2 separate regions of the Homo sapiens genome follow, and region 1 is linked to region 2. Evidence: promoter capture Hi-C in human tissues and cell types (Jung and others, 2019). All regions are on one chromosome and are shown on one strand. Each heading gives the region's core, a stretch centred on a gene start or on the middle of the fragment in contact. The rest is flanking DNA. Distances are from core to core; before and after follow the strand shown. Region 1 overlaps GCLC-AS1 (GCLC antisense RNA 1). Region 2 holds the start of GSTA4 (glutathione S-transferase alpha 4).

Evidence for each region. The method cuts DNA at HindIII sites, captures the fragments that hold promoters and counts their contacts. A contact is called where the count stands out against the background at its distance.
Region 1: a contact is called between a fragment that was not itself captured here and the fragment with the promoter of GSTA4 in region 2, in 1 of the 25 tissues and cell types used here (dorsolateral prefrontal cortex).

What each region holds. Positions count from the first base shown.
Region 1 is chr6:53,475,410-53,481,296 of GRCh38, reverse strand. The region is part of intron 3 of GCLC-AS1 (GCLC antisense RNA 1); the gene reads right to left. Among named protein-coding and RNA genes, the nearest start is that of GCLC-AS1, 47 kb to the right of the region's middle. The HindIII fragment of the contact is 6,838 bases long and covers 1-5,887 here.
Region 2 is chr6:52,993,543-52,999,356 of GRCh38, reverse strand. GSTA4 (glutathione S-transferase alpha 4) reads left to right here and starts at 4,073. Exons shown (of 7, transcript NM_001512.4): 1 at 4,073-4,108; 2 at 5,096-5,200. The coding sequence starts at 5,114. It overlaps RN7SK (RNA component of 7SK nuclear ribonucleoprotein), which reads right to left and starts at 3,737; the gene lies at 3,406-3,737. RefSeq lists silencers at 3,500-3,589, 3,921-4,152 and an enhancer at 3,750-3,969. The HindIII fragment of the contact is 14,338 bases long and covers 235-5,814 here.

The sequences.
Region 1 (5,887 bases), core at 1,841-4,340, 480 kb before region 2:
AAGACTTCATGACTAAAACACCAAAAGCAACGGCAACAAAAGCCAAAATTGATAAATGAGATCTAATTAAACTAAAGAGCTTCTGCACAGCAAAAGAAACTATCATCACAGTGAACAGGCAACCTACAGAATGGGAGAAAATTTTTGCAACCTACTCACTTGACAAAGGGCTAGTATCTAGAATCTACAAAGAACTGAAACAAATTTACAAGAAAAAAACCCCATCAAAAAGTGTGCAAAGGATATGAACAGACACTTCTCAAAAGAAGACATTTATGCAGCCAACGAACATATGAAAAAAAGCTCATCATCACTGGTCATTAGAGAAATGCAAATCAAAACCACAATGAGATACCATCTCACGCCAGTTAGAATGGTGATCATTAAAGTCAGGACACCACAGATGCTGGAGAGGATATGGAGAAATAGGACTGCTTTTACACTGTTGGTGGGGGTGTAAATTAGTTCAACCATGTGGAAGACAGTGTGGCGATTCCTCAAGGATCTAGAACGAGAAATACCATTTGACCCAGCGATCCCATTACTGGGTATATACCCCAAGGATTATAAATCATTCTACTATAAAGACACATGCACACATGTTTATTGCGGCACTATTCACAATAGCAAAGACATGGAACAAACCCAAATGCCCATCAACGATAGACTGGATAAAGAAAATGTGGCACATATACACCATGGAATACTATGCAACCATAAAAAGGATGAGTTCATGTCCTTTGCAGGGACATGGATAAAGCTGGAAACCATCATTCTCAGCAAACTAACACAAGAACAGAAAACCAAACACCACATGTTCTCACTCATAAGTGGGAGCTGAACAATGAGAATACATGGACACAGGGAGGGGAACATCACACACTGGGGCCTGTCAGGGGTTGGGCGGACCAGGGGAGGGATAGTATTAGGAGAAATACCTAATGTAGGTGATGGGTTGATGGGTGCAGCAAACTACCATGGCACGTGTATACCTATGTAACAAACCTGCACGTTCTGCACATGTACCCCAGAACTTAAAGTATAGTAAAAAAAGACTCCCTGCTTCTTAGTCATTTTCCCTGATAAACATATAAAATGATTGATCATGAATAGAGAGAAAAAGGCACAAATAAGGACAGGAGGCAGTAGAACATAGAGCTCAAGGAACAAGGTCTCTGGCATCTGATTGCTTGACTTTAACTATGTGACCTTGGGGAAGTTACCTAACCTGCTTATGCCTTAGTTTCTTCGTATGCAAAGTAGGGATGGTAATAATAGCACTTACAGAGTTGTGAGGATAAAAGAACTAGTACAAGTCAAGCATTTAAGATAGTGCTTATAGAATAGTAAGCACTCAATAAATGCTAGCTATTTTTCTAGCTGAGTGCAGTTTTAAAAAATTATCCTTAAAAAAAATTCAAAAGACTACTGTAAACTTTAAGTTGATATAAAACTCATAGCAAAACATCATCAAGAAAATGGAAAGCTAAGCCGGGCACGATGGCTCATGCCTGTAATCCCAGCACTTTGAGAGGTCGAAGCAGGAGGATCACTTGAGGTCAGGAGTTCAAGACCAGCCTGGCCAACGTGGTGAAACCCCGTCTCTACTAAAAATACAAAAATTAGCTGGATGTGGTGGCGAGTGCCTGTAATCCCAGCTACTCAGGAGGCTGAGGCAGAGAATCACTTGAACCCAGGAGGTGGAGGTCACAGTGAGCCGAGATCATGCCACTGCACTCCAGCCCGGGCCACAGAGTGAGATTCGACCCGCCCCCACCCACCCCCAAAAAAAATTAAAATGGAAAGCTGAATAGCTAGCTGGGGAAAATATGTGACACAATATAACAAAAGGTGAATGTCCTTAATATATAAAGAGTTGGTAAACATTGACAATTAAAGATATTAAGACTGCCTAGAAAAGGCAAAGGATATGAAAAAAAATTCACAAAAAAGGGAAAGCTTGAAAAGCCGTCTTGTGTTAATGGATTGGAAAACTTAATACCGTTATGATTGAGTACTACTGAAAGTGATCTACAGATTTAATGCAGACTTAAACGAAATGTGACATATACATTTCACACCAGTCAGAATGGCTGTCATTAAAAAGTCAAAAAACAACAGATGCTGCCAAGGTTGTGGAGAAAAGGGAATTCTTACACACTGCTGATGGGAAAGTAAATTAGTTCAGCCTTGTGGAAGGCAGCTTGGTGATTCTCAAAGAATTTAGAACTACCATTCAACCCAGCAATCCCATTATTGGGTATATACACAAAGGAATAAAAATCATTCTAGGATAAAGACACGTGCGTGTGTATGTTCATTGCAGCACTATTTACAATAGCAAAGACATGGAACCAACCTAAATGCCCATCAATGGTAGGTTGGATGAAGAAAATATGGTACATATACATTATGGAATACCACACAGCCATGGAAAAGAACAAGATCATGTCCTCTGCAGCAACAGGGATGGAGTTGGGGGCCATTATCCTGAGCAAACTAGTGCAGAAACAGAAAACCAAACACCACATCTTCTCACTTATAAGTGGAAGCTAAGCATTGAGTACACAAGGACATAAAGAAGTAAACAACAGACACCAGCACCTACTTGAGGGTGAAGGGTGGGAGGAGGGTGAGGATTGAGAAGCTACCTGCCTATCAGGTACTATGCTTATTACCTAGGTGGCAAAATACTCTGTACACCAAACCCCTGTGACACACAATTTACCTAAGTAACAAACCTGCACGTGTACCCCTGGACTGAAAATAAAGGTTAACAAAATAAAAACAAATAAAGATTTAACAAAACCAAAGGTGGGAAAATGTGGTTGGTATATACATGCAATAAAATATTTAGCCTTTAAAAAAAGGAAATTCTGACACATGCTACAACATAAATGGACCTTGAGGACATGCTAAGTTCAATAAACCAGTCACAAAAGGACAAGTATTGTATTTTTCTAATCATATGGGGTGTTTAGAGTAGTCAAATTCAGAGACAGAAGGTAAATCATGATTGCTGGGAACTATAAGGAGAGGGAATGGGATATTGTTGTTTAATGAATGTATAGTTTCAATTTGCAAGATGAAATGGGTTCTGGAGATTGGTTGAACATGGATTTACTTAACTACAGAACTGTACACTTAAAAAATGGTTAACTGGTAAATTTTATGCTATATGTATTTTAACCACAATTAAAATTTTAAAAATAAAAATTAAGAAAAAAGGGAAGGCTAGGCCGGGCATGGTGGCTCACGCCAGTAATCCCAGCACTTTGGGAGGCCAAGGCGGGTGGATCACCTGAGGTCATGAGATTGAGAGCATCCTGGCCAACATAGTGAAACCCCGCCTCTACTAAAAATACAAAAATCAGCTGGATGTGGTGGCACGTGTCTGTAATCCCAGCTACTTGGGAGGCTGAGGCAGGAGAATTGCTTGAACTTGGGAAGCGGAGGTTGCAGCGAGCTGAGATTGCACCACTGCACTCCAGCCTGGGCGACAGAGAAAGAATTCATCTGAAAAAAAAAAAAAGAAAAGAAAAGAAAAAGGGAAAGCTAATGAATGAATAGAAAAATAAACAAACCTACTTGTAATCAAGGAAATGAAACGGGAAATGGAATTAATTTTTGCTAACAAAATTGGTAGAGTCGGGTTTTTTTAAGAGTATAATACACAACACTGGCAGAGATAAAGCAAAATGGGCACTTTCCCACACTTCGATAACACTAACCTAAGAGCTTTAAAATATTCATATTTTTACTGAGATAGTCTATTTCTAGGAATCTATCATAAGAAGATGATCAGAAATGCAAAGTGCATATTATATATATATATTCATGTATATCAGTATAACAATATCTCTTCATAGTGCTACTTATAATTTTAAAAAATTAGACAACCCAAAGTAAGTCTACTGATACAGAAACAGTTATAAATGTTATGTTTTGGAATGAATGGTATGTAGCATTTGCAACTGCTAGAAAAGGTATTTATGAATAATTTTTAATGACATGATAAAATAATCATCATGTGGTTTTAGTACATGACACAGATCATGGAGCCTGATATGCAATAAAATAACAACTATGCAACAAATACAAGTAAGCATACTAAAAAGAATGGAAGCAATTTGAAATATGCACAGTGATTTCCTTTAGCTGGTCAGATTTTGGATGGTTTTAATTGTTTCTTTATACTTTTCTGTCATTTTCATTCTTTTACGTAAAGTGGATCTAGGAACACTGCAAGGCCTCCATGGAAGATGCTGTCTTTACTTTCAATCTCATGCCAGATCTGTTAGCCAATGGCTCTCAACTAATGGACATTAGGGTTAACATCAATTAACTCTTCTTCAATTCTCAAATTTATGTTTGTTTGTGTTCTAGACTCCAGTCATAAAAGATAGCCTTAAAATATTACTACATGTCAATGATGTGAGATTGAGGAAAAAATATATAAAAATAAATTAAAAATAAAAAATAATAACATTACCAAGTTTTTAGTTACTAGCTTTTTGTTGCTCTGTGGTAGTAAAATACATATACAAGAGTATTATTATAACTTTTCAGTGACTAATGGCATTATTTTTTGTTTGTTTGTTTGTTTGTTTGTTTGAGATGGAGTCTCGCTCTGTTGCCCAGGCTGGAGTGCAGTGGCGCGATCTCGGCTCACTGCAAGCTCCACCTCCCGGGTTCACGCCATTAAGGGCAATTTTATATATATATGTGCTCCTAACAATACCACTACAATTTTTATAGTCTTAAAATTTGCCATAAGCCAGCTTCTTTCAACTTTGTTCTACAGAGCACCTTTCTAAAAGGTGTTACCAGGTAAGCCAAGTTTGAGAAAACCTGCTCTTTTTTTTTTGTTTCCCAAACTTATTTGACCATGGACCACTTTTATCAAGCAGTGTCTTTTAAAAACATCCCATGAAACTGTGTTTCCTAGGAACCCATTTGTGAATGCTGCAGTAATATGTATGGTAACAGAATGCTAGTGAATAGGAGAATGTATTTTCTGGAAAATGTAGGATTTTTGTTTCTACTGTAATCATACCTAAAATACTTTATAGATGGGTTCAAGAATGTTATGGACTGAACTGTGTCTCCCTCAAAATTCATTTTTGAACTCTCTTAACTCCCAGTATCTCAGAATGTGACTTTCTTTGGAGATAAGGAATTTAAAGTGGTAACTAAGTTAAAAATGAGGCCATCAGAGTGGGCCCTAATACAACATGATTGGTGTCTTTATAAGAATAAGAAATTTGAACACAGACTCACAGAGAAGAAAGATTATGTGAAACCACAGGGAGAAGATGGCCATCTACAAGCCAAGGAGAGAGGCCTTGGGAGAAACCAATCCAGCTGACACTTTGATCTAGGGTTCCTTGTCTCCAGAATTGTGAGCAAATAAATTTCTATTGTTTAAGCCACCCAATCTGTGGTGCTTTGTTATGGCAGCTCTAGAAAACTCATGTAAATGGTGTACAAACACAAACATCCCTGTACAGGCCAGGTGGGAGGGCCCTGATAGGAGTATTTGACTGTCAATATTGTTTAGAATTCTGGGAGCATGGTGTTAATAACAAAGACTGATTTTTCAGTTGGTTTTATTATTGCTTTTAAATTTTCCACAGACAGTGTGTCTCCTTGCTGCCACCTTCACCAATCCTCTTGGCACACCATTAATGTCAATCAGTGTTGTTGGTTGAATTGTATCCCCACAAAAGACATGTTGAAGTCCTAACCCCCAGTACCTGTGAACTTGACCTTATTTGGAAAAAGGCTTTTGCAGATGTAATCAAGTCAAGATGAGGTCTTATTGGATCATGGTGGGCCCTAAATCCACTGATCAATGTCCTTATAAAAAGAGATATTTGGAGACACA
Region 2 (5,814 bases), core at 2,824-5,323:
TCATCTAGGTTTTAAGCCCGGTATGTATTAGATATTTGTCCTAATGCTCCCCCTCCCCTCACTCCCCCACCCCCCGACTGGCCCTGGTGTGTGTTGTTCCCCTCCCTGTGTCTATGTGTTCTCATTGTAAGATGGAGTTGATTTTAAAATGCTGTCACCCTGGCTCTCCTACACTCCTGTTTCCCTAACTCTAGGATGATGTTGCCTCTATTTTATAAGATTGGACATCTGAAACTGCCATTTTTGAAGGTTAAAAACAGTAAGATATTAGCAATTTGGTATAATTCAACCAGTTGGAACTAAGCAAATGGAGACAAGTGCTTGGCTTAAATGTCTAATAAAAGCAATCACAAAAGCCAGGTGCAGAGGTACATGCCTGTAATCACAGCACTTTAAGAGGCAGAGGTGGGAGGATCACTTGAGCCTAGGAGTTTGAGACCAGCCTGGGCAGCATAGTTAGACCCCTTCTCTACAAAAACTAAAAATTAGCCAGTAGTGTCATGCGCCTGTAGTCTCAGCTACTCAGGAGGCTGAGGTGGGAGGATCACTTGAGCCTCGAAGCTGTAGTGAGCCCTGATCGCACCATTGCATTCCAGCCTGGGCAATACAGCAAGACCCTGTCTCCAAAAGACAAACAAACAACAACAACAACAACAACAACAACAACACACGATCACAAAAGACTATAAGAACCACAACCTTCCACAATGGCCATTGCAGTCTTACACAAAAAAATACTGGGATTATTGCCCTTGTTATTCATCTTTGCAGCAAAGGATACTTATTTTAAAACAATTATGCCATCGTCATTTTTGTCCTTTAAAAATCTTTGTTTTATTTTACCTCCCTGAATACACACATAATTTACTATGGCATGCATATTCCTATTGCAAAATTCAATTTCCAAATAAATATTTTTAAAGAGCCTCTTTCTGTTTGTTATTTAGGTTAACATAAAAAATCTAGAGATGATTTAAAGTAAACCAAAGGATGTGTGTTAAGTTACATGCAAATACTACACCGTTTTATATAAGGGACTGGAGCATGGTCTGATTTTGGTAGCTGAGGGGGTTCTGAAACCAATCCCCCACAGATACTGAGGGATGACTGTACTTTAAAATATCATGTTGTACACAGTAAAAATATACAATTTTATTTGTCAATTAAAAAATAAGCTCCTTGAGGGCAAGAACTGGATTTTATAATTTATTTTTTATGTCTCAGTAAATCCAGTAGACCTCAGCACAGATGTTCAATAAACCTTCCTTAATTATAAACTAAAAGCAAGAAAAAAAGAATGACCACTTTCAGCAAGGCTGGAAAATATGGCTTCCTACTCATGTTAAACTGAGTAATTGCTGTTAAATCAGAACTAGAAATATGATTGGATATACACTGTTAAGTCTTTTTTGAAAACGACTTTTCTGACTTTTGGGGTGCCCAGTGGTCCTTGACTTACCTCTCTTCTTACCCTGCATACCTTCTCTGGATGAGCTCATTCTTTTGCCACCAATTCAACCGATTTCAGTTCTCTCTACTGAGTCCTCACTGGGTTGGTTTTTGTCTTTTCGGTTTTTTTTTTATAGGGAGTCTTACTTTCTCGCCCAGCTTGTACTGCAGGGGCGTGATCACGGCTCACTGCAACCTCCGCCTTCCAGGTTCAAGCGATTCTCCCGCCTCAGCCTCCTGAATAGCTGGGACTACAGGAACAGGCCACCACGCCCGACTAATTTTGTATTTTTAGTGGAAACAGGGTTTCACCATGTTGGCCACGCTGGTCTTGAACTCCTGACCTCAGGTGATCCGCCCGCCTCAGCCTCTCAAAGTGCTGGGATTACAGGCGTGAGCCACTGCGCCCAGCCCTCAATGGCTTTTTCAACTGTCTAGTGGGTATTTCCAGCTGGATGGTTCATAGCAACAAAAGACAAGTCAACCCATTTTCCCCAAACTTTGTCTTCCTTCTCCGCTCTTTATGGAACTAGAAACCAAAGCATTGCTCATTCATTCATTCAACAAGTGTTCTCTGAATACCTACTCTATACTAACCAGGATGTACAAAAGGAAAACCAAAAGCGCAAAAATCCTCGATCTCGTGGAATTTACATTCTAGGAATCTACAGACAAATAAATAAAAAAGTCCTGTTAGATGACAATACATGTTATTAAAAAAAAGACAAGAAGTGTGTGTGTGTGTGTGTGTGTGTGTGTGTGTGTGTGTGTGTGTGTGTGTGTGTGTTGGACAGGGCATCATTCTAGACTTTTCTTCCTCCTCCCTTCCCTTTGATCTGATTAGCAATTGCTTTACCACCTACCTCCTTAGTATTTCACCTTTTCTTACTCATATTCTTCAAACTCATGGTGCTACTTTAATTTACACAGACACAAGAGGTTTCTTTCTCTACCCCTACTACCCCAATTCATTCGCCTCACTTTGGCCAGAGAAACCTATTGAAAATAAAATCTGATCATGTTAGCGGCTGCAATTGTTCAGCACCCAGGCTTGTCAAGCAAGGTACTCTCGAGCGCCCCCGTGGGTGAAGAAAATAACAACATCTATAGCCTGAGAAATAGCAGAAGCTGCCTCTAAAAACAAAATTTATTTTCGAAGGCATATATTTCAAACTTTGAAATCCATGTGAATTTTGCAATTGTTCCATAATATAGCCCTGATAGTTTTAATATATTTTTAATGTTTTAACTAACTTGCCAGCCAAATTATTCTTTTAGCACCACCCCCAACTCCAAAGACCCCCTTCCAAACAGGTGCTGACTTGAGACCGTGACTATAGAGCACTTGTCTCTAAAATGTACAAAATGAAGAGAAATCTCAAGATGTCCCACTGAGATGAAGAAAGAAAGAAGAAAATATGTATGTTTGTATACATGTATACATGTATATATATGTATACACAAAATTAGAAAAGTTAGGGTCTACTGTATAAATTAAATAAGCGTTGACAGTGCTTTTGATTTTAATCTGTATGTGGTACTTTGCCTGCTTAACACCCTTATGTGGATTTCCTGACGGACTTGACATTCCTGTCAGGAAAGCATTGCGTACTTGCTGATTAAAAAGCATCTAAGGGCCGGGAGCGGTGGCTCACGCCTGCAATCCCAGCACGAGGCAGGAGGATCACCTGACGTCAGGAGTTCAAGACCACCCTGGTCAACATGGCGAAACCCCGTCTTTACTAAAAATAGAAAAATTAGCCGGGCATGGTGGCGCGCGCCTGTAATCCCAGCTACTCGGGAGGCTGAGTCAGGAGAATCGCTTGAACCCGGGAGGTGGAGGTTACAGTGAGCCGAGATCCGTCTCAAAAATAAAAAATAAATAATGAAAAAAATTAAAAATTTAAAAATTAAAAAACATTTAAAAAAGCATCTAACTTAGATGGGTAATGGGTCAAAAGAAAGGCAGACTGCCACATGCAGCGCCTCATTTGGATGTGTCTGGAGTCTTGGAAGCTTGACTACCCTACGTTCTCCTACAAATGGACCTTGAGAGCTTGTTTGGAGGTTCTAGCAGGGGAGCGCAGCTACTCGTATACCCTTGACCGAAGACCGGTCCTCCTCTATCGGGGATGGTCGTCCTCTTCGACCGAGCGCGCAGCTTCGGGAGGGACGCACATGGAGCGGTGAGGGAGGAAGGGGACACCCGCCTAGCCAGCCAGATCAGCCGAATCAACCCTGGCGATCAATGGGGTGACAGATGTCGCAGCCAGATCGCCCTCACATCCGAGGTACCCAAGCGGCGCACAAGCTATATAAACCTGAAGGAAGTCTCAACTTTACACTTAGGTCAAGTTGCTTATCGTACTAGAGCTTCAGCAGGAAATTTAACTAAAATCTAATTTAACCAGCATAGCAAATATCATTTATTCCCAAAATGCTAAAGTTTGAGATAAACGGACTTGATTTCCGGCTGTTTTGACACTATCCAGAATGCCTTGCAGATGGGTGGGGCATGCTAAATACTGCAGTCTCCATTGGTGAGGTCGTCCCGGAGCCTCGCCCAGCTCCCGCGCGCTAGAGCCGCCTGCTGGTCTCACCCAGCCGGGACCGCTGACCTGGCGCTTTGTGCGGCTCCAGGCCTCCGAGTGGACTCCAGGTCTGTCTCCCTCCTGCGGTCGCCCCCTTCCTCGCCCTTTCTCTCTTCTTTTTTTTCCCTCCCCTTTACTCTCTGAGTCTCACTCTCGCATTCTTCCCTCACTCCCCCAGTTCAGTCCTTCTCTTGTCTTTTCTTCCTCTTGTCCTTTGTCCTCCTGCTCCATCCAGTCTGGGCAGAGGTGGGCCCCTTGGCTGGAGCTGGGGTCCTTCTTGGCTCAGTGTGCGTATTTTTTTTTAAACCCCTTCTGCGGAGTCTGAATGCATTGGTGGAAGGTGGGCTCGGATCGTCCCCGGGCCTGGCTGGGCTGCCGCTACGCCCCTGCATGGGCTGAGCGGGGAAGACGAGCATGGGAGAGTGCGATCTCAGATGGCCAAGCCCTGGCCCCCGGCTCGTTTTACAAGGCCGGGGGCTCATCTCCCTGTAGGGGTGGTGGACACGCGGGACCCGGGGGGCGCAGCCACCGCATGCGTGACGGTGGACGCACATTTTGCAGACAGTAGTAGTACTCGGCCTGTTCACCTTCCAGTTGCCGTGATAATAAAATATGATGATGTATGTAAAAGCATGAATACTTGAAGAGCTTCCAGTGGCTGTGCGATTTTCCTTCGCTACCCTCTTCAACGCCTGCCACCCCCTATCCCCCAGCTGAATTTGGAAAATCTGAGATTCTCGAGGTCAAAATATATAATATTCTGAATTTGTGAAATCCCGTACTGCTAGCACATATGTTTTTACAACAAATGGCCCCAGCTTCCCAAGATCCAGGATAAGAAGTCATAAATAGAAATCATATAAAAGCCAAGGTTTTTTTCTCCATGTTTTAAAATGGTGGTTTTTTTTTCTTGAGTGAGGGAAAATGCAGCAACAAAAATAAAGAACAGTTTCCCGTGCCAAAATCCTGAATATTCATTTCGCCCCTGAGCACTGGGTTGAAGACGCGAAATTGGGACTGTTGGTCTGCGACGAGCTGCTGCATTTGTATTTCAGAAAGCCTGAAAAGCTATCATGGCAGCAAGGCCCAAGCTCCACTATCCCAACGGAAGAGGCCGGATGGAGTCCGTGAGATGGGTTTTAGCTGCCGCCGGAGTCGAGGTACCTTATATGCTGTTTCTTCACGGATTTGTCATACAGCTTTTGAGACCTTTGAAAGAAAAATACGTTTTGAAGCACCGTTCAGTTCTAGTTCTCGTCCACCAAAATCACAGGCACGCTTCACTGAGTCAGATACCATCCCTGAAGGGATTTTTCTTTATAATTAGAACGTAGTTGATGGAATTCTATTTTCCTTTTGACTTTTACTTAATTATTGGCTTCTGATCTAGCACCAGTGAATATTTATTAATAAGAAGAAAGGAAATTTACCTGAAAATTGTCAGTTACTCTGAGCTCTTATTAATTATGCATTCTCAGGGTAAATTTCTTGTTTTCTTCAGTGGCTTCAAACTGGCAGCCTTGGTATCTTGCTTACATATGTGTGTGTGTCTGTTTTTGTTTTCGTTCTGTTCTTTTAGCTTCTTAGTATGGAAATTTTCAAATACCAATAAATGTAGAGAGAACATTGCCATGAATTCTATGTACTCATCACCCGACTTCAGCAATCATCAGCTCTATGCTAATCTTGTTTCATCTATCACCTCCCTTCCCTTGTTTTGTGGGAGTATTTTAAAGCAAAATCCAAACATCATAACATTTCATCTGGGAGTTCC